Regions from separate parts of the Homo sapiens genome. Here regions 2, 3 and 4 are each linked to region 1. Evidence: promoter capture Hi-C in human tissues and cell types (Jung and others, 2019). All regions are on one chromosome and are shown on one strand. The core of a region is centred on a gene start or on the middle of the fragment in contact, and the rest is flanking DNA. Distances in the headings are between cores, read along the strand shown.

Region 1 (4,842 bases), core at 781-3,280:
GGCCTTCCCTTCCTCTAAGGCATCCTGGGTACAGGGGTTCCCAGCCGCCCTTCCCACCTGCCCTGGAGCATAGGTGAGATTTCTGCCTCCCGTTGGCAGGGCGTGCACTTCTGACAGGCACATGAGTTGAGATGCACCTTTGTGCTAGAGGGTTGTAAACTCTGGGTCAAGTGCATTGTAGTATGCTGGGCATTCAGAGAGTTTCCTTGCTCTTATGTGTGACGGGCTGCCAGAACAGGTGTGGGAATGTGTACTAGGTTCCGTGTATTGCAGGGCTGGAGTGAGAATGCATGTTGAGTATCTTATTTATTACCTTAGTATATGTGAGTGGAGTCCAGGTTGTTCTGAGGGTTATGGGAAGGAGGCTGGGTGAAATCGGTGATAAGATAGTAAGGGGTAGGTGCAGGTATTCAACAAGGCGTTGGCTGCCAAGACCAGGGGGTGGTCTTTCTCCCCCCCGCCCCCAGGCTCTTTCCACCCACTCCTACAGTTCTGTGGAGGAGTGTCTGCTGGTGGGCTCCCCTCTCCTCCCCCCCACCAACCCGCGCCCAGTTTTCTACCCCCTTCTGGGGAGGTGATTGTTGGCACAGAGGGAAACTCCCTTCCGGGCTATCCACCCCTTTCCCATTAGCCTTTGGTGGGGAGGGGTTCTCCAGTTAAACCAGCCCCCCTTTGGGCCTACCTCTGAGAAGGGTGGGGCTCCAGCCCCCTGCAGCTCCTTTTCCTTTGGGTGGAGAAGTGGGACTAGGAAGGAAAGGGGAAGGGGGGAGGACCCGATCTCTGCCTTTTCAAATGCAACCGGAGACCAAAGGCAATTAGACCATTGGGACCATTTCCGACCTGGCGCCGCGAAGCCCGGGAAGTGACAAGGTAATTTGGACCTCTGACCGACGTGCAAACTGGTCGGAGGGCTGCAGCACCCGGGCTGCCCAAGTGGGCCGCAATTTTACGGTCCTTTATGGACTCCTGGCTTCCGCGCCTCCATGCCTCTTACACCCTGCCAGCCACAAACTGCCCGGATCGGCGTTTGATCTTGCCCTCGCCTGGGGAAAGTGTCTTCCCCGAGCAATTGAAGCATTCCCCGAGCAGTTGAAACACTGGGTGCTTGGGGTGAGCTTCGAATCCCCCAAGTCCAGGACTTGCATCCGCCCCCTCAGCACCCCGCACTCAAGGCACTGCTGTCACCCTCAGTCCCGCCAATGCCAGAACACAGTAGGAGACCCCCGCCAGAACGCAGATAGCAGAGAGAGTTGCTCAGGTGGGTCCCCCCAGCCATCCTGCCCTAGGGGAAGGGAGTGTCTTCCTCCTGGCCTGCGCCGAAGTGAAGGGTGGGCGCAGTGGGAGGCCCGGGGAGCGGAGGGGCACGGTGGCTACCTTTGCTGTGCTGGTACTCGGCGTTCCCGGTGGCGCAGTCCGGGGTGCAGCTCACCTCGATTTCTTCATAGAAATCCGACTCGGTGTCCGAGCTACTGGGTTGCCCCTGTCCGGAGAGGCTGTCGACTGAGGGGGCCGGGGGTCCTGGGCCGAGCATGGCCGCCCCAGCTACCTGGGGCTCGGCGCCCGGCCCCGCCGCGCTGCCTGCGAGTCCATCTACCGGCTCCTCCTCCGGGCCTCCCCCGCCGCGCTCCCGGGTGGCCGGAGGGACGGCCCGAGGGCTCAGGCAACCACGGGGCACCATTTTCTCGGGCGGCTCCGGCAGCGGGCTGCCCACGGCTTCGGACAAATTTGAGACTCTCTTGCCAACCAGAGTGCCAAGCTGACCCCCATCCAGAAACACAACCATGTCCTTTCGGCTCTCCATCCCGGGGCTCTCCGGTGGGGGAGGGGAAAGCCCCAAGTGAGTTCCTAACCCCGGCTCCCTGGGTCTCCAGCGGCCGGACGGATCTTGGTTGCAAGAGGGAGAAAGAAAGGCCGGGTGCCTGGGAGGGCGCGGAGCTGCTGGAGCGCGGTCTGGACCGCGACCGCGGCGGTGGCGGTGGGAGCTAGGGTCACCTTGTGAAGCGAGCGCTCCTCTGTGCCGCACCGCCTCTGGGAGGAAGCCCCATTGCCCTCTTCTTTCTAAGCTGTCATCCTCCTGCTGCAATCGTCATTACAGTACCGCTGGTGACGCCACTCGGCGAGCGCAAGTGGATAAATAGAAACGTCTGCCACAGCGAAGATGAAAGGAAACCCGCAGCTAATGGCTCGGCAGTGATGCGCCAGGTGTGGGCCTCGCTCGATTGGGGAGGAGAGTGTGAAAACAGACAGAGAGACACACACACTGAGAGAGGGAGACACCCAGGCAGAGGGGATGCAAATGGAATTCCGCAGAAAGAAAAGAGAGCTTAACGCGCGCGGCGAGTTCCGCAGGGGCAGCGGGACTCGGTAATTAAATAAGCTTTTGATTTTTTCTTTTATTGTTGTTTTGACTTTTGTTTTCTTAACTTGGTGCCTTGATCTAACACCGATGAAAGAATCCATAACTGCATTTTAGAAGTGTGAAGCCCGGCTTACAAGCCTCAATTCTGTCGGCATTATTACAACTGTCTGCCCCTGGCAGCTAACCTCAAACTGGCTGAAAAGTCTTTTTACAAGCTACGGAAAAATGTATTCCCCCGCCCCAAGTTGACTGGAGAGCTTGAGGCTGGGCCATCTTTTCCTCTTTTCTCCTCCCTCTCCCTACCCACCTCTGTCTCCTTACTCCTGCGAACCAAACTTTGCTATTTTTCTTCCCTAAGGGGCAAGAAATAAATACCTTATTATTATTTTTTAATTTAAAGACCCGCCTTGGCTTCTGTAAGAGTGTGTGCTGATTTCTTTTAAATACCTCCTTCCCATCTAGATGGCCTTAAGTTTTCCACAGCCTGGCTTCATCTTGAGATGGCTATTCGTACAAGAAGTCGCTTTCCCGTTTGCCTGGACCTCGCCTGCACTCCAGGTATGTTGGGTGGGGAGAGTTTCTAAGAGTTGTCTTTTTTTTTCCCTTGCCCATATTTTAAAGTATTCGTTCAGAATCAGCGAAGTCTCCTGGAAAGAGGTTTTTCGAATGAAGAGGCGCCAGGAATGCGGCCCCTGCTGTGGCAGTACTGGAGGCCCCTACTTGGGAGAAGGCAGTAGCTTTCACCGCGCTATTTTGGGCAGGGGTTCAGCCTCCCCGAGTACAAAAAGGTTGGGGTTCATAGAGGTTTGACTCATAAGGTCCTCTCCCAAGTCCCTGCCTAGGGGCAGTGGTACCTGTCTCCAAAAGTGGATGGCGTTTGAGGTAGAAGAGAGTGAAGTCGCTGAAAATGCCCTAAAACAGCAAGTAAGTAGGGACTCTGATGAAGGGCTGGAGGTGGGGGCAGGGGTTGTGGAACTTAATATCTGGAAGCTGCCATAGGCCTCTCTTGGCTCCTCTCCCAGGGAAGAAGCTGGTATAAAACTCCTTCAAACTGACCCTTTTTGAGCTCCAAGCAAGTGTGCTGGGGCCAGGTGGGTGGGCTGAGTCTATCCCCACATTGCTGAGAGCAGGAGGTGGGCACCTTCTATGCTCAACCCCCCTTTCTCCGCCTCCTCCCGAAGAGCTTCTAGCCCTAGGCAGCCAGCTGCAAAGGGCAGCCCAGCACCTCCCTCCTTTCTGTGTCCCTAGCAAAGCCCCAGCTTTTACAGGTAAGTCCTCTTCCGTGACCTTTTTATCTGTTATCTCCTACTTTTCTCTCCTCCTTTTTCTCTTTCTGTATTCTTCTCCTTCTTTGCTTCTCTCCTCCATCTTCCTATCCATAGGGTTAAGGAAGGTAGAGGAAGTAAGGGGTCCAAAGAAAGACAAAGTTTCCTCTTCACTCCGGCTTTCCACTTCTCTTTCAGTCTAAGACGATGTTCATTAATCTTGCCTGGGGGCGGAGGCAGCGGGATCCGGAAGGTAGTGTCCACATAGATATTTCTACTCCTTGGGACTCCTGAAGCCACTATATGCTGAGCACTGCTAGCCCCAAAATCCAGGGAAATGTTTTAGAGGTGAGAGGATCAATTGGGAGTGAGGGGAGTCAAATCCTAGAACCTTTTCCTGCCTTGGAGAGCTGTCCAGGTATTCTATCTTTCTCTGTCCTCCCTACCAGCAGCCACAGCCTGAGGGAGCACCTGGCTTGCTCTCTTTCCTGTCAATGGCAAGCCCCCTGGGCATCTGTCTTAGAGCTTCCAAGGTTGCCTACTCTCTATAGGGCCCTCCAGCACTGGGCCTTTGAGGTGCCCACCCTCCTTTCCTCCTTGAGCGCTTAACCTTCTCGTGAGTAGCCTGCTGCCCCCATCTCCTGGGGGCTGGGTCCTCAGAGGGACTCCTGGCTCCCCACCCCGCCCCCAGCTCTGCATTCAATGGGAATCCTCTGTTTGATCCGCTTTTCTTCTGGGTGAGATGAAAGCCGAGTAGGAGTGAGAGATCAAGGAGTGCCACTTAGTCTGCTTCCTGGGTCGGGCCCTACGGAGCAGGGCTTACATCCCGCGGAGAGGGCTGGATGGAGCTGAGGACCGGCTTTTCAGAGGGAGGTTGCCTCCCTTGGGCTCCAGATCTGAAGCTTCAGGGACACATCCCCTCAGCCCAAAGCCTTCCCCAGCCCTCTCCCGACTTCTGCCCCGCTCTTTCAAAGCTGACTGGCCAGTCTTAGGAGCCTAGGGAACCACACCCACCCCCGCCCCTTTCCACCGGCGCATTAGGGGGAAAACGTTTTAACCAAATGTCACTTCTTCCAAAAGCATCCTTTCATCAACCTCACATTAAGAGCGGTTGGGTTTTTAAAGGAAAGAAGACAAAAAAAGAGAGGACTGGATAAGAACACTGTTTTGGTTTTTTGGGCGGTGAATGTGGGGGGAGTATTTAATAACATCGTTATC
Region 2 (4,842 bases), core at 1,248-3,747, 710 kb before region 1:
GTGTTCTCCTTCTTAATTGGTTCTCTGCCTTTGGAAGAATTGTTGAGTATAAGCACCAACATCAGGACCTAAATACTGTAATAATTAACTTGTAAAAGGATTCAGGATCCTGAATGTTTGCTGAATGAACTAATTCATTTTACAAAACTGGACACACCTGGATTCTTGAAGCTATAAAAACAAATCTGGTCGCCCAGGAAAGATGACCATTTCAGAAAAGTAACCATAAGGCTTATGCTTTGATGTCTAAAATGCATGCTTTTCCTTTTTATTCATGTACACTGTGGCAGCAAATGCCTTAGAACCTGGCAAAAAAATTGCATTATTAAATAGAGACCTATACAATTTCTTAAGGTAATAGTACTGTTCTTTTGGCTTAGCAGGGCTAATGCATCAAGCAATGCCAGGGTAAAGACCATTACACATCTAGAGGGGTTCTAGATGTATGTGAGCCAGAGTAGCATTCCTACAGGGAAGTTAGCACACCCAGATGAAAATTGAACAGCATATTTAAATAGGAGTGATAAGCTTAATTATAACAACCTTTTATTGAGTCCTTACTATGGGCCAGGCACTGAGCTAAGCCTCTTCAGTAAGATGGGGAATAGAAGTAATTAAAGCTGGGTTACGTGGGTTCACCATCCTAAAAGAATGGGCAAAATTCCATGGAACTCATACCAACATTTATTTAAATATCATTTAAAATGGAAAATGTAGTTGCTTCATTTTGTATTTGCAGAAAATTAGAAGAGAAAGACGAAATTATCTTGTATGCAGGAGTTGTGCCTTTTTTGTCATTGAAATTCAGGTTGTTCGAGCCATCTGTTCATTTCTAACAGAAGCCTATTGCACTGATTTGTAATTATTTTGTGTCCTATGTTTGGCCTTGAGGTAGCCATTAGCTTATGAATGCTGTGACCAACTACTCGATGTAGTCTTATGTAGTACAATGCAGGCAATGTACTTGGCTAAATATCAAGCTCATGGCACATAGTGGACACTCTGTAGGTCCCTTGGACAATACAGAATTGAAGTTTTGTTAACCAAGTTTGGTTCAAAGTTAGAATGGTTTCATAAGTACCAGACCTGTGTTTGACATTTGGTTCTTCAGTTATTATAGGTTGAAGATCATTAGGGTTAGTGTCATAAAAATCCTGGTTTTTGGTAAAGTGTACGCCTACCTAGACCTACTCAAAGGTCCCGTGGGTGTGGGTGTGATAGTGGCTTTTCATTGGTAGTCTTCTGTAGATCTTTTCAACTAGATAGGGCTACTGGATGATCCCAATCCCTCTTGGGAGGGATGGCATTCCAAGGCAATGGATCCAAACGTGCCTATGGGCACTGGGCCACCTGGAGCTTGAAGCAGCTTTGCATATTTAGTCCCTCAAGTGATTCGCTGTCAACTGCTCAGGGTGTCAGCTGAGACTCCTGCTCTGACATCAGACTGTATAGCCTCAACAACTCTGCAGAGAGTCTTAATGCTCTGGTATCTGGCTGATCTAACCACTTCTATATTACTTAACAGATTACAAAATATTTTGATATACATAGTCTCATTTGACATGCTCATGATGATACTACAAAGTCTTGAACCTTGAAAATGTTAACCGGTGCAAAGCTCAATGATGCCAATGTTTCACAAAGAGGAGTGGAAGGTGGAATGAGATTGTATCAAAAGTATCGTGAAAAGCAGGTAAGTTATCTCTCTAATTTAGGTCTGAAGCTGAGTGTCTAGTAAAAGTCAGGAATCCTGGGAAGTTCCTAAGTTGGGGATTGGGAGACAGTGGAGAGATAATTTTGACCTGTGTCTGAGGGGTAAACTTGAGACTCCTGACATACATTCATGAGGCTAGCAGAGCTGTGAGAGGCAGCTTTTTAACGATTGGCATTGTCTAGGAGGCAGACTGTTAATTTTATTTTATTTATATATTTAGTTTTTGAGACAGAGTCTTGCTAGTCTTGCTCCGTTGCCTGGGGTAGAGTGCAATGGCACAATTTCGGCTCATTGCAACCTCTCTGTCCTGGGTTCAAGCAATTCTTATGCCTCAGACTCCCGAGTAGCTGGGATTACAGGCATGTGCCACCACGCCTGGCTAATTTTTGTATTTTTAGTAGAGACAGGGTTTCACCATGTTGGCCAGGCTGGTCTCAAACTCCTGACCTCACATGATCCACCTGGCCGGAGGCAGACTTTTAAATAACCACAAGAGCACACTTTGTGGCTCAGACCCACAGGGAGAAGGTCAGCATCATGCATGAGCATGGCAACACTTCCCTGCTTGTAGTTTGGGTCCTGGAACTACACATGCACTCTAAAGGCTGACAGTGTGGGGACCTCCACTACCAAAAGGAAAAGAAAACACTGGGGAATGACAGGAGGGCACGACAATAGAAAGGCTGGTGGAGGTCAAACGGGGAGCCCAAGGAACAGCATGATCAGCCAGAATTGTTGTGTTGACAGTTGCCTTGCATCGCAAATCCTTCCCTTCTCAGCTCATCCCTTTCTCTCTCCTCAACTCTCCCTGGCCTCCCAAAATCCAGATGTCAGTATTATTGTTCTACAGAATTTATCTGAGTGACTATGGAATTGGAGGAGTCCAGAAAATAACATCTAGACAAGGATGCAAAGGGTGTAACTGATGAGAGCAGCTGTTGTGGGATGAGGGTGTGGCTGACAGCAGGGCCTGCTGAATTTGGCCTCTTATGCAGCCTTGTGAGTTTGTGGGTGCACATTTTAGCATATATCAGGACTTCCTGGGTGTTCAGAAAATGGATGTCTTCTAAGGGCAGGTAGAAATCCGTGAAGTTAATTGCCCAGTTTTCTAATCACTGACATAGGGTAGAACGCTGCACAAATGTAGAATGAAGCAAGTGAAAAAATTCCAAAACTTGACCACTACCTTCAAGTATGGTATTTTACATCCAGGAGCCCCCATTCTCTTTTTAATCACCAAAAACATGATCTAGCAATCTATCTGCAAACCCTTGTAGGTTATCAATACAGGTGGTCAATATACAGTCAATATAAAGATTGTATACAATCAATATTCAGATGGTTACTGTGTTTCTGTTCCTGACATCTTGGCTGTAAGTGCTCCCGCATGCCTGAAGTGAGTCTTCAGAAGAAGGGACAGAAAATACAGGGGTGTACAAATGATAAGTCATTGCTGTCAGGGTAATTACAGACTCTTACAAGGTTTTGATTTGGTCTCATTTTCCATAGGCATTGTGGCACAGTGGGAAAGGGGATGCAGAAAAAAAATAATGCTTCATTTGGACTTTACAGTCTCTCATCCTTATTGCCAGATTTGTTTGATTAGATGAGCCTCAGGTGAGGCAGGATACAACAGCTGCCCCTCTGTATAAATTTTACCAAATGCCACATGTAGTTTTTATTTGGCTGTGTTTGCAATGATAAGCTGGAGCACCGTGGCATGAAGCAGTCGGGAAAATGCTTGAAACTGAGCACAGATGTAAACACCCCTGGGTCTTGTAAATCTCCCACAGTAAAGCCCCTCAGAGTGTTTCTCTCTGCCCAGCCTGTGATTTTCAGGCTCCCCAGGACCTCTCAGTGGCTGGCTACCCCACATCAGTGACCCGAATATCACCAGCCCAGCAGCACCGTCCAGTGGCCTGGTATGGCACATAGACCATCTGCAGGCCACACCCACCCCTTTGCCCCCACGTCTTGTTTTTGACATCCTTGGCAGCCTCTGCCATGAATTGACCAAAAGACCTAAGTGTAAGATAAGAAAAGAGAAGTAGGAAAGCAAGCAGAGTTAGCCCGTGGATGCTGGAGGTAGAGACGGCTTGTCTGAGACACCCAGCTGTTAGTCATCAGAGTGTCCGTCTCCAGCCAGCTCAAGGCAATGCTGGCCAAGGGTGCTGTGAGCAGCCAGGTGGGAATCAGTGGGCAGAGGTCTAATAAATTTTCATCAAGCACTCCAAGGCTTTGATCCACAGTGAGGAAGGGGATGGTGATGGCAATTTATTATAGTATGTCACTAGTGATGTAAATAACCAACTAGAAGGAGAAGGGAGGAAAAACAGGAGAAATTCACTATGTTTAGAGTTTTATAGTTTTTTGTTTGGTTGGTTTACACATAGTCATGGATCAAAGGGGAAAAAATTAAGGAGTGTTGACTAAATTATGTGAACTGTCAAGAAGTAAATGCTGCATGAAAGCAGATTCACTTGAAAGGAATAGCAGAGGCTCTCATAAGCCACAAATGCCAAAAACAGAACAACTGTGAGTGCTAGATTCTTAGTACCTATTATATTGTTCTTTATGGATGGCTACTATTGTGTAGTAGTTATAAATCCATCAGAAAAAGAGTATATTCAGAGATGAAATTGAACTGTCCACAGAAAGCAAAATAACTCAGCAGTTATTTTAATCTTGGAAGTATTTGAAAGCATTTAAAGCTGTTTTGCAAACATGACATTATGAGCATCCTTTGGCAGAGTAATTAAATAATCTGCTAGAAAGGAACAAAAACGTAGACTCTTGACGACAATGAAAATGTATAATATCATCTGCTTTTTAGATGTCATGGCATAAGTAACAGGAGGCTTTATATTTTCACCTCAGAGAGGAAAAACAAATTGCTTTGTGAGAGGAAAAACAAATTGCTTTGTGATTCCACTATAAAATGATCTAGACTTCAGCCAAGTTTGCTTGAAAACAAAAACTTCAGGACCATTTCTGATTGAATGCAGTGGGCATAGCGTAGCTACTCAGAACATTTTGCATTCTTTTTTTTCTTTAGGGCAGTAGCATATATTTACATATTACAGTGATATTCTGTCCTCAGTGGAATAAAAGACCACCGTAGTTTACTA
Region 3 (4,842 bases), core at 1,227-3,726, 660 kb before region 1:
AATCATGGCCTAAAAAGGGAGGAAGGGAGAAAGCTTAAATAAGATAGCAAAATATTGACATTGTGGCGGTTGTTGTGGGTTTTTTGTTTTTTTGTTTTGTTTTGTTTTTTGTTTTTGAGATGGAGTTTCACTCTTGTTGCCCAGGCTGGAGGGCAGTGGCGGATCTCAGCTCACCACAACCTCCACCTCCCAGGTTCAAGCGATTCACCTGCCTCAGCCTCCCTAGTAGCTGGGATTACAGGCATGTGCCACCATGCCCGGCTAATTTTGTATTTTTAGTAGAGATGGGGGTTTCTCCATGTTGGTCAGGCTGGTCTCGAACTCCCGACCTCAGGTGATCCGCCCGCCTTGGCCTCCCAAAGTGCTGGGATTACAGGCATGAGCCACCGCGCCCGGCCAGTGGTGGGTTTTTTTTTTTTGAAATTATGCCTAATAAAAAGTTTAAATTATCACCATCATCAACATCTGCGTCCTTTCCATACCCAAGATTTACACACAGTTCACAGTTTACCAAGTATATTTAGCACTCAGACTAATTGGGTTAACCTTCAGTAGGCAGAAGAGGAGGCATGGAACTTCACATTTCTTCAATTAAAAAAAGAAAGTGGTTATTCAAAATTAGCAGGGCCTGGGTGGTTATTCAAAATTAGCAGGGCCTGGTGGTGTGCAACTATAGTCCTAGCTACTCAAGAGGCTGAGGCAGGAAGATTGCTTGAGCCCAGCAGGTCGAGGCTGCAGTTACCTATGATCACGCCACTGTACTCCATTCTGGACAGCACAGCGAGATTCTGCCTCTGAATGAATGAATGAATGAATGAATATTATTCAAGTGTGTACTTACCTGAATAACCTAATAATACCTGAACATATTCAACAGGTGCCAGCCTCCTGGATAACAGGGAAAACTAAACTTGTCAATAGACAAAATTACAACAAATTTAAAGACTTCACTTGATTTTTATTTGTGATTCTCGAATCAGGCAACACCTCATTTTATAAAATAGAATGTGTGTTCCAATGAGCTGAGTAGATGAGGTTGGCCTGATAGGCAGAAAAGGGCTGAGAAAAGCAGAAACAGAACAAAAAGTGCATTGGTTCTTTTAAAGTCATTTGTTGTTCTTACAGGGGACTTCCAGCTTAGGTAAACTGGGCCCCTTCTGATTGGTTGCTGTGACTGTCCTGTTTTTTTGGAAAACTGGCCCATTTCAAAGTTTAGCCTGAGCAACTCCATTCTGGTTTGGTCTGCTCAGTTGGGGCCTAGTGCAGAACCTTAGTCCAAATCAGTGACCGTCCATGAATTTTATTTAATGCTTTTAAGTTCAGAAGTAGTTTAACTGAACTCTTGCAACAAAAGGCAAAAAATCACTTTGAAAAAAAATCAACCCCCAAAACCCATGAGACTTGAGGTCTGTAAGCTTGAGATGCCCACATGCACATGCTTTGTCACAGAACAGCCCATGCTGGAAACTGGCTTTGCCCCCAAAATAGTTTTACTGTCTTATTATTAGTACTTCATTTAAGAAAAAGTGCTGTAAACTCTGCTCTATCTTTCAACAATGCTAATTTGCTGACTGCTATTCTGTGTATAAACAAGTCTCATATACACCATAAATTTGAGCAGTTGGCCCATACATAATTACATTTCATGAATAGATGCTGTTATCTGAATATGTCACTAATATTCTTGCTTTAGCTTGGGGACAGCTCTTGTCTTAGACATACTCAACTTTCTCTCTCAGATATTACAGTCTGCCAGCTTTGTTCTCTGATTTTCTGAGAAGGGATAAAGTATGTACCAAATGCCCAGGCCAGGGTATTAGTGGAAATCTCAGTAGATATAGAAGAAAATGTGTAAGTCCACGATGGCACAGACTTTCAGCTTACATGTCACCTTCATTGGTTTGTAGTGACTACCTAGGGCACAGTGCTGAAGAAAACTGTAAGGCTGAGTCCCAAAGCAGCACAGGCAAGAGTGCTGTAATCGATTCGTGTGGCCGTCTTGGGCAGAGTGCATTTAAGTGGCACGAGAGCCACTGTGTGTGCCATCTCTGGCATAGAAAAACCCTACCTATTTGAGACCTCCTCTCACATTGAGAATCTTCTACCATCTCATTTGCTTCTCCTCCCCTTTCTCAACCCAGTGTTTAATTAACTGGACACCTCCAGTGTGCCTCACCCCCTGGTGCTAGATTCCCCGGGAGTCCCTTGTTCTTAGCTGGATGTTGATGGTCACCCACCCCACCTTGTCAGAAGAATTCACCTAAGGATAAGGCCATGCAACATCAGAGAAGCACTTTTCTTTGGAAATGGAGATGTCCAATCCCAGGCTTCGATACCTATCTTAGCCCAACTGTGGACTGCATAGGTTCCCCCAAGAAATTACCTCTTATGTAAGAATTCTCCTAGATGGCAGTTAAATTTATAAACAATTTCTCCTTCCTGGGAAAGGGTCAGGAGCACAAGGCCAGCACCCATGGAAATACCACAACTCTGAGTGGTCTCCTAACATATATTGAGTATTATGTGGAGCCAAGGGCTTTTCATGCATTTATCCAATGAGATGTTGATAATAAACCCCATGAGGTAGGTGTTAGGATTACCTCTGTTTTATAAGGAGGACCCCAAGATGAGAAGGAGTCATTAATTTTCTAAGCTTGAACACCAACTAACTCAGATTAAGAGTTTGCCTTCAGAACCTAGATTTTTTCACCCACCAGGCTGTGTTCCCAGCTGAATACTGGATTTAAAACTCTAAGAGCCTTAGTGCAACTTTCTCTTCAGTTTTTAAATTTCTTCTAGTTTATGGGGAAAGTTACGCATCATCTCATTAGCAGCTTACAGTGAAACCTCAATAACTCATTTAATTTACTTCTAGAGGAGGCAAAACAAGAAAACTGAAAAGCTATTTGTAGTTTTATACCACAAAACCTTGTAAAGTGCAGCTTCTTTGTTTTGTTCATTAGTCTTTACGTGGATGTCAAATTAGCAATGAAAACCATGTGTAAGAAATAGCCATAGTTATTTGCAATTCAATGAGGGTAGAAAAGGAACGGAAAGGAGGATAGGGAGTTGCCAAGAGAAAGATATTCCATTGGTCTCCAAACCAAAGACTTGTGGTATGGTAGCTTTCAGAAGTGTTTTTTATTCTTGGCATCAATGACGGAAAAGACCATGGTTTATTTTATTCAGGCTAAAGTAAATCAAAATTAATTGCTTCACTGATAATTTATGCTGACCTGTGACTTTAAAGAGTGATTGCCAGAGCCTGAGCAAGCTTTCATTAAGGTAGATTGACTATATCATTCCATAGTTGTGAAGAAAATATACAATATTTGTTGGGAACATACAAAGACATAGTATTCAGGAATGGGATTTTGTTATTTCAATGGCTCAGCTTTGGTGCCTGGATTTCATTTGAGTGCCAAAATTTAGGAAAAGATACTACTGGTTTAAAAAAGTGGTTCTTAAGTGCTATCCACACCACAGCTGCTAGTCTGCTGCTGTTCATGAGGACGTTTCCACTGGTCTGCAGTGTCTGCCTGGGGCATGTGGGGCCAGGGAACGGGGGCATCCAGCACCTCACCACCCCTCTGTGTGTCCAGCTGTGAGAGGACACTCAGCTCTTGCTCACCACCTCCCAGCTCTTGGAAAGGAGAAGCTACTGGATTTGAGTGCCCTTGTATTTGCCTTCTTTCGTTTGCTTAGCATATTTCAAGCAATTCCACCTAAATTTAAGAGTTCTGTTTGGTCAGCATTCCTTGCAACTGAATTTTTCGCAATGATAATAATAGAAAACACATTTAGATATTTTTAAAAATTTGCATCTAGAGAATAATTGTAAACAGTATGTTATAAATAATACTATATATATGTGATGCAAGTATAAAGTAATGATAACATGAAATTTTATATTGTGGCTTTTCTTCATCAAAACAGTTTAAGTAGATTTTTCCTATGTTCTGTTATCATAATCTCAGAATAAAGAAGAATCTTTCTCAAGAAAGCCTTTCTCAAGAAAGGATTTATTCCAAGATTATGCTCTTCCTATATTTTATGTTAAAGTAGTTTTTCCTTTTTAATTAGAGGCTGGTGATGATAGATGGTAGTTAGATAAGGTATACATGGCAATATAAAAATTGGCAACCCAATGTTATTTAAATACTAAAAAAGGTATGGAATATCCAAACTATAATATACCAAAGAGAATATAAATTTACTGTAGCTGCCTTTAAAAAAGAAAATAAAAATAAGAAAAAAAATAAAAAATAAAAAGAAAAATAAATAAAATATGATTGTCAAGACAGTAGATGAAGGAAAGATCACCTTTTATCTTTTTTTATCCTTACCCCACCTTTTCTTCTTCCCTCTCCCCCACAAAAAAAAAAAAGAAAGAAAGAAATGAACATCTAGAAGCAAAATAAGCTACAAGGTTTGGTATGAAATTGGCTTGCCCTCATATTTATTTATTTTATGCAAAATTAGATTAGAATTCTCCAAAGACCGGGAACTATATCCTTCCATATATGTCATATATAAACTTAGAAAACTTAGAAAAACAGGCCAGGCGTGGGTAGCTCATGCCTGTAATCCTAGCACTTTGGGAGGCCAAGGCAACGAGACTGCTTGAGCCCAGGAGATAGAGACAAGCCTGGGCAGCAGAGTGGGATCCTGCCTCTACAAAAATTTAGCCTTGGATGTGGTGCTCTACAAAAAATACAAAAATTAGCTGGGTTTGGAAGTGCATCCCTGTAGTCCCAGCTACTTGGGAGGCTGAAGCAAGAGGATCACTTGAGCCCAGGAGGTCAAGGCTGCAATGAGCCGTGATGGCACCACTGCACCCCA
Region 4 (4,842 bases), core at 1,029-3,528, 550 kb before region 1:
GACACACACCTGTAGTCCCAGCTACTCAGGAGGCTGAGGCAGGAGAATTGCTTGAACCCAGAAGGCAGAGGCTGCAGGGAGCTGAGATCACGCCACTGCACTCCAGCCTGGGGGACAGAGTGAGACTCTGTCTCAAAAACAAAACAAAACAAAATTTGCTAAAAAGAGTTCCATAACAGCACAAAAATTGTTCTCCTTATATAACTGAATAGACAGGGTAAGTAGGAAAACCATACTCTGAGAATTCTCTTTCCCCTCTCTGAAAGCCAGGGTCTCACTATGTTGCCCAGGCTAGCCTCAAACTCTTGAGCTCAAGTGATCCTCTTGCCACAGCTTCCAGAGTAGCTAGGAGTACAAGCGCATGCCACCATACCCCACCAAGAACACATTTTAAATCATTCTTCTAGCCCTTCATTACCACTAAGTCTTTATTAAGTAAATACCCTATAACACCATTTTAGGTACTACAGAGGATACATGGAAACAGAAGGCTCAATTCTGTCCTACAGGGGATAAACCTAATATTTAATAGTCTAAGATGTTTACATTTAAAAAGACTTAAAAGATCAATTACTACACACACTAAACAAGAAAATATACTTTCTCTAGTATTTAACGTCATTACTGTCAAATTTACATAAAAGTGAAAAAATCAGGACAGATGAAAACCTAGTTAATCCAAGTTTTCATGTTATTAATGTTCTCACTATGTCTCTCTATTCTGTTCTATAAGTTAATAAACTAATAAAAACTTAACTCATCAGCCAACAGGTACATTGACAAGGGAAGAAGTACCCCCATTGATCCAAAGCAGCCAAAAATAAATGAATAAATAGAAAAATATGAGAATAATAGGGGATTTTTTCCCCTGCAGAATTTAAAAATTAAAATCCACAAATAAAATGCTTCAAAATTCCATAGATTTAATGGAACATAAAGTAAAAATTCAATTCGTGGCTTTTGTCCTATGTAGCCCAAATGAGTACTCACAAGCACCAGCTCATTTTTAACATGTGTGAATAGTCTCAAGAAGATAACTACTAGTTTACATTCACATTTTATATGTTCATGTTGTGTATATTCACCACTTGCATGACTCTATTTTACATTTATACCCTTATTTTCTTGTTGCCTCAATTCCTTCACTTATCACATGAAAATTTTTATGAACATCCTGAAATTCTAACACATGGAAGAAGGCAGTATAAGTACTTTTCAATGTAGGACACCCTACACAAAAAGTCTAAAAGATTTTTACCTGCAGAAGGTGATGGCTTTACATCTACAGTAGAGGCAGAAGTGGCTGGGTCTGTGTTTACTGAAGCATCATTCACTTTCTGCTGATTCCCCGTTTTCTTTGTGAAGACATTATTATTATTAGCCTATTCAAAATGTTAATAAGTTGTTAAATGAGTCAATGAATTAGTTATATTTCCTCCTTGCAGTAACTAAGTAAATAATATTTTTACATATTACTTTAGGAAATCCTAAGAAGTCCACAAAGCTGCTCTTGTTTTAAAAGCCAACAAAGACTAAAGTTATACACATCATTTTGCTAACTGACCTAAATGTTGCAAAAGAAATATACTATATTTTGCTTTTTCTTATAAACTCATCAAAAGACCACCAAAATAAGTCATTCACAGAAATCTACTACAAAGTTATAACGTACTCAAAAGGCCCCAGGCCAAATTCATACATGTGAGTGAGTCATACTTAAAGTATCATATTTTTTCACAAAAGCCTTCCTACTTTACTACATGCATTCCTTGCTTGTCTCCTCTGATTTAAAAAAGTAGGACCAGGAAAGTATCATATGCATCACATAGTAAAAGAGAGCTATAGTACCACTTTCAATTTCAGGTTTTAAATATGTTTCTTCTACATTTCCAGGAGTTCCTCAGATAGTAAGCCTTGTATTTAAGCACAGTTTAAGGACCCACATTGAAACATACATACCTCAAAACAAAAACATCTTCTTTGGTATATTACAAATCTACCTACCTATTCTCAAATGGAATAAAAAAGAATTAGCTAACACTCTTTAACTGTTCCTAATCTAATAGGAATAGGAATCTTCATAATATGAGTATGAAGAACTTGCCAATTACAACTGAGACACCATCTAAGACCTAGGGATGATTAATGGTGAACTCCAATGAGGATAGATGTCATGGTCACAAGAGTCAATAATAAGTATTGAGTTTTGAGTGACAGATATTTATCAAGAACTTAAGAGGGAAATTATCTAGAAAAGAAGACTTTTTTCTGTTTTTTCCTTGCTACTGCCCTTGCTTCCTTTGTTGGCTGTCCAGTAAATTAAAATTCCAGACTTTTTTAAAGAAGAGTTATTACAATATTTGGCCAATGACTTGAAATCAAGCAGAGATAAATAATATTTAAAAGGTTGATATTTGGAATATTACAAATTTGATTTTCGAACAAAAATACTAACAACACATTTTACTATGTGTAAATTTAATGATACTTACTGATTGATCTGAAAGTTTGTTTATTTGTTTTTGGAGCCTTTGGCATTCCTTAAATTTTTCTTTATAATGGTCTGCAGCCATCTGAAGACGGAGTTTCAGATCTTCAACTTCTCTTCTTAGTTCGTGTTCCAGTGTATCAGTCTTGTCCTAGAAAGAAACAAACATTTGAAGAAAAAAATAAAAATCTGATACCTCCTAATGTTAATAGTAACCCCAACTTCAATCTTACTTTTTTTCTTTTTTTTGTTTTTGAGACAGAGTCTTGCTCTGTCACCCAGGCTGAAACACAGTGGCCCAATTATGGCTCACTGCAGCCTTGACCTCCTGGCTCAAGCAATCCTCTTGTCTCAGCCTTTGGACTAGCTGGGACTACAGCTGCACACCACCACACCTGGGTAATTTTTGAAAATTTTTGTAGAGATGAGGTCTCACTATGTTGCCCGGGCTGGTCTTGAATTCCTGGGATCAAGCGATCTTCCCACCTCAGCCCCCCAAAGTGCTGAGGTTATAGGTGTGAGCAACTGTCCCCGGCCACTTTTTTATTTTGGGATTTTGGCTACAGAGCAACATAGGGTCTCTTGTTAAGTCCAGTTTTACATTCTTAGGACTAAGGTTCATTTAAAAAACTAGAGAAAAATAATCCACCTCCTGAAGAGCAATTATTACTCCCTTAAACAACCATAATACTGTTTTATACAGCTAGTAAGAAATTCCAAACAAAACAATACATATCTGACATCAATATATTTAATCAATAGGGCAGCTTTCACCAACCATTAAGAATTCTGCTTACAGAAGTTTTCCTTACAGCACACATTAACTGTAAGCCAAGAAGTCACAATGACTAAACAAAAGGAATGAAAATTTTAAATTTAAAATAAGGCAGAAATCTGACCTGTCTTATCTTAACACAATTTACTACTTTGTGAGATTATAGTGGTTTCTTAAATCAAAATGCAAATTCAAAATTAACTTGTTTTACCTGATCTTTTTTCATAGCATTTAGTTTAAGTTCTGCCACTGCATCAGCTAACTGCTTTTTCACTTTCTCGTTTTCCAAGCGTGCAGTATGCAGGTCTGCCATCGTTCTGTCTCGTACGTTGACAGCATCACTGAGTTCTTTAGCCAGAAAGACAACTTCTTGCCGAGTTGCCTGAACCTGTTCCTCTGCTTTACGAAGTTGCTCCTTTAAAAAACAAGTATCTTCCTGAAGAAAGCAGATAAATATATTTGTAATTCAACCACTCAAGTAAAAAACAGAAGCAGAAACAATTTTCGCACATATTTCAACAGGGCCAAAATTTTAGATATTGGTTTTTCTACTCATGACTTACAGAGTATATGCCTACAAAAAACTTAAGAAGTAACTTTGTTTTAGGTTCCCTCTATAACAACCCTATGTACTTGGTTTCACTGCTACTACTTTATACACAAGGAAGCTAAAGTACAGCGAGTCAGGCAACATACCCAGTGCTTAAGGACCTGCCCAAACTGAGGCTCAAACAAAAGATCCCATCCCCCAGAATCTCTTCAGCTAGAAATACTGACCCTCATTTTGTATGACTACCAGTAAAAATCATTCCGAAAGCTTCTTTGTAACACCAAAAATTTTGGTTAAAAGATGTTTCCTACTTTCTACCCCAAGAGACATCCAATATAATATAAATCTATTTCATATCATTATAAAAACACAGAACAGATTTAGGCCTTAGTTCTAAAAACAAAATATTGATATACAAATAGTAAAGACGAGGCATTGGGAAAATGAAAAGTAATTCATACTGCTTGACAAACCTAAAAGTATCTTTAAAAAGCTAAAATTGCCATGGTGAAATTATTTCCTTTAATATTAATGTTTAAACATTATAACATTTAAACATTATAAACACAATAAATTTAGTTTATTCAACTTCCTGTTTTTAATCTCTGTACTAAAAATAATGTAAAATCAGGAAAAAAATGCAACCCAATATTGGTTTCTAAACTGTTAGCCCCTTAGAAGGAAATGTAAATGATGATTTTATGCAGTGTTGGCATGGACAAAATCTTCGGAGGCATCACACTAATAGATCTACCTATAAAAAGATCGCCAACTTCTATATGTCAAAGGAGAAGAAAAAGAACTAGAAGAAAATTATATGTAATATATTCAAGAAAGGTATAATAATACTTGATATAAATAACTTTTCTAGTCAATAAGGAGAAACAAAACAAAAGTCAAAAGTCATGAACATACAAAATTTTCTAAAGAAATAAATGCGATTATGCAGTAAAAAAATTCAACTCACCAACAATCAAACAAATAAGTTAAAACAAATGCCATTCACCTTTCAAACTAACAAAGATCAAA

The links. The method cuts DNA at HindIII sites, captures the fragments that hold promoters and counts their contacts. A contact is called where the count stands out against the background at its distance.
Region 2: a fragment that was not itself captured here is called in contact with the fragment with the promoter of EVX1 in region 1 in 4 of the 25 tissues and cell types used here (IMR-90 fibroblasts, lymphoblastoid cells, mesendoderm cells and 1 more).
Region 3: a contact is called between a fragment that was not itself captured here and the fragment with the promoter of EVX1 in region 1, in 4 of the 25 tissues and cell types used here (heart left ventricle, mesendoderm cells, spleen and 1 more).
Region 4: a contact is called between a fragment that was not itself captured here and the fragment with the promoter of EVX1 in region 1, in 2 of the 25 tissues and cell types used here (mesenchymal stem cells and small bowel).

The regions. Positions count from the first base shown.
Region 1 is chr7:27,239,990-27,244,831 of GRCh38, reverse strand. EVX1 (even-skipped homeobox 1) reads right to left here and starts at 2,030. Exons shown (of 3, transcript NM_001989.5): 1 at 1,375-2,030. The coding sequence starts at 1,801. It overlaps EVX1-AS (EVX1 antisense RNA), which reads left to right. Exons shown (of 4, transcript NR_120507.1): 2 at 2,822-2,917; 3 at 3,191-3,283; 4 at 3,382-3,403. RefSeq lists an enhancer at 1,535-2,412. The HindIII fragment of the contact is 9,702 bases long and covers 1-3,452 here.
Region 2 is chr7:27,946,869-27,951,710 of GRCh38, reverse strand. All of the region lies in intron 2 of JAZF1 (JAZF zinc finger 1), which reads left to right. Among named protein-coding and RNA genes, the nearest start is that of TAX1BP1-AS1, 210 kb to the right of the region's middle. The HindIII fragment of the contact is 6,016 bases long and covers 1-4,842 here.
Region 3 is chr7:27,904,981-27,909,822 of GRCh38, reverse strand. All of the region lies in intron 2 of JAZF1 (JAZF zinc finger 1), which reads left to right. Among named protein-coding and RNA genes, the nearest start is that of TAX1BP1-AS1, 170 kb to the right of the region's middle. The HindIII fragment of the contact is 3,503 bases long and covers 725-4,227 here.
Region 4 is chr7:27,790,863-27,795,704 of GRCh38, reverse strand. TAX1BP1 (Tax1 binding protein 1) reads right to left here. Exons shown (of 17, transcript NM_006024.7): 9 at 3,475-3,699; 10 at 2,493-2,639; 11 at 1,259-1,382. Among named protein-coding and RNA genes, the nearest start is that of TAX1BP1-AS1, 53 kb to the right of the region's middle. The HindIII fragment of the contact is 7,368 bases long and covers 1-4,842 here.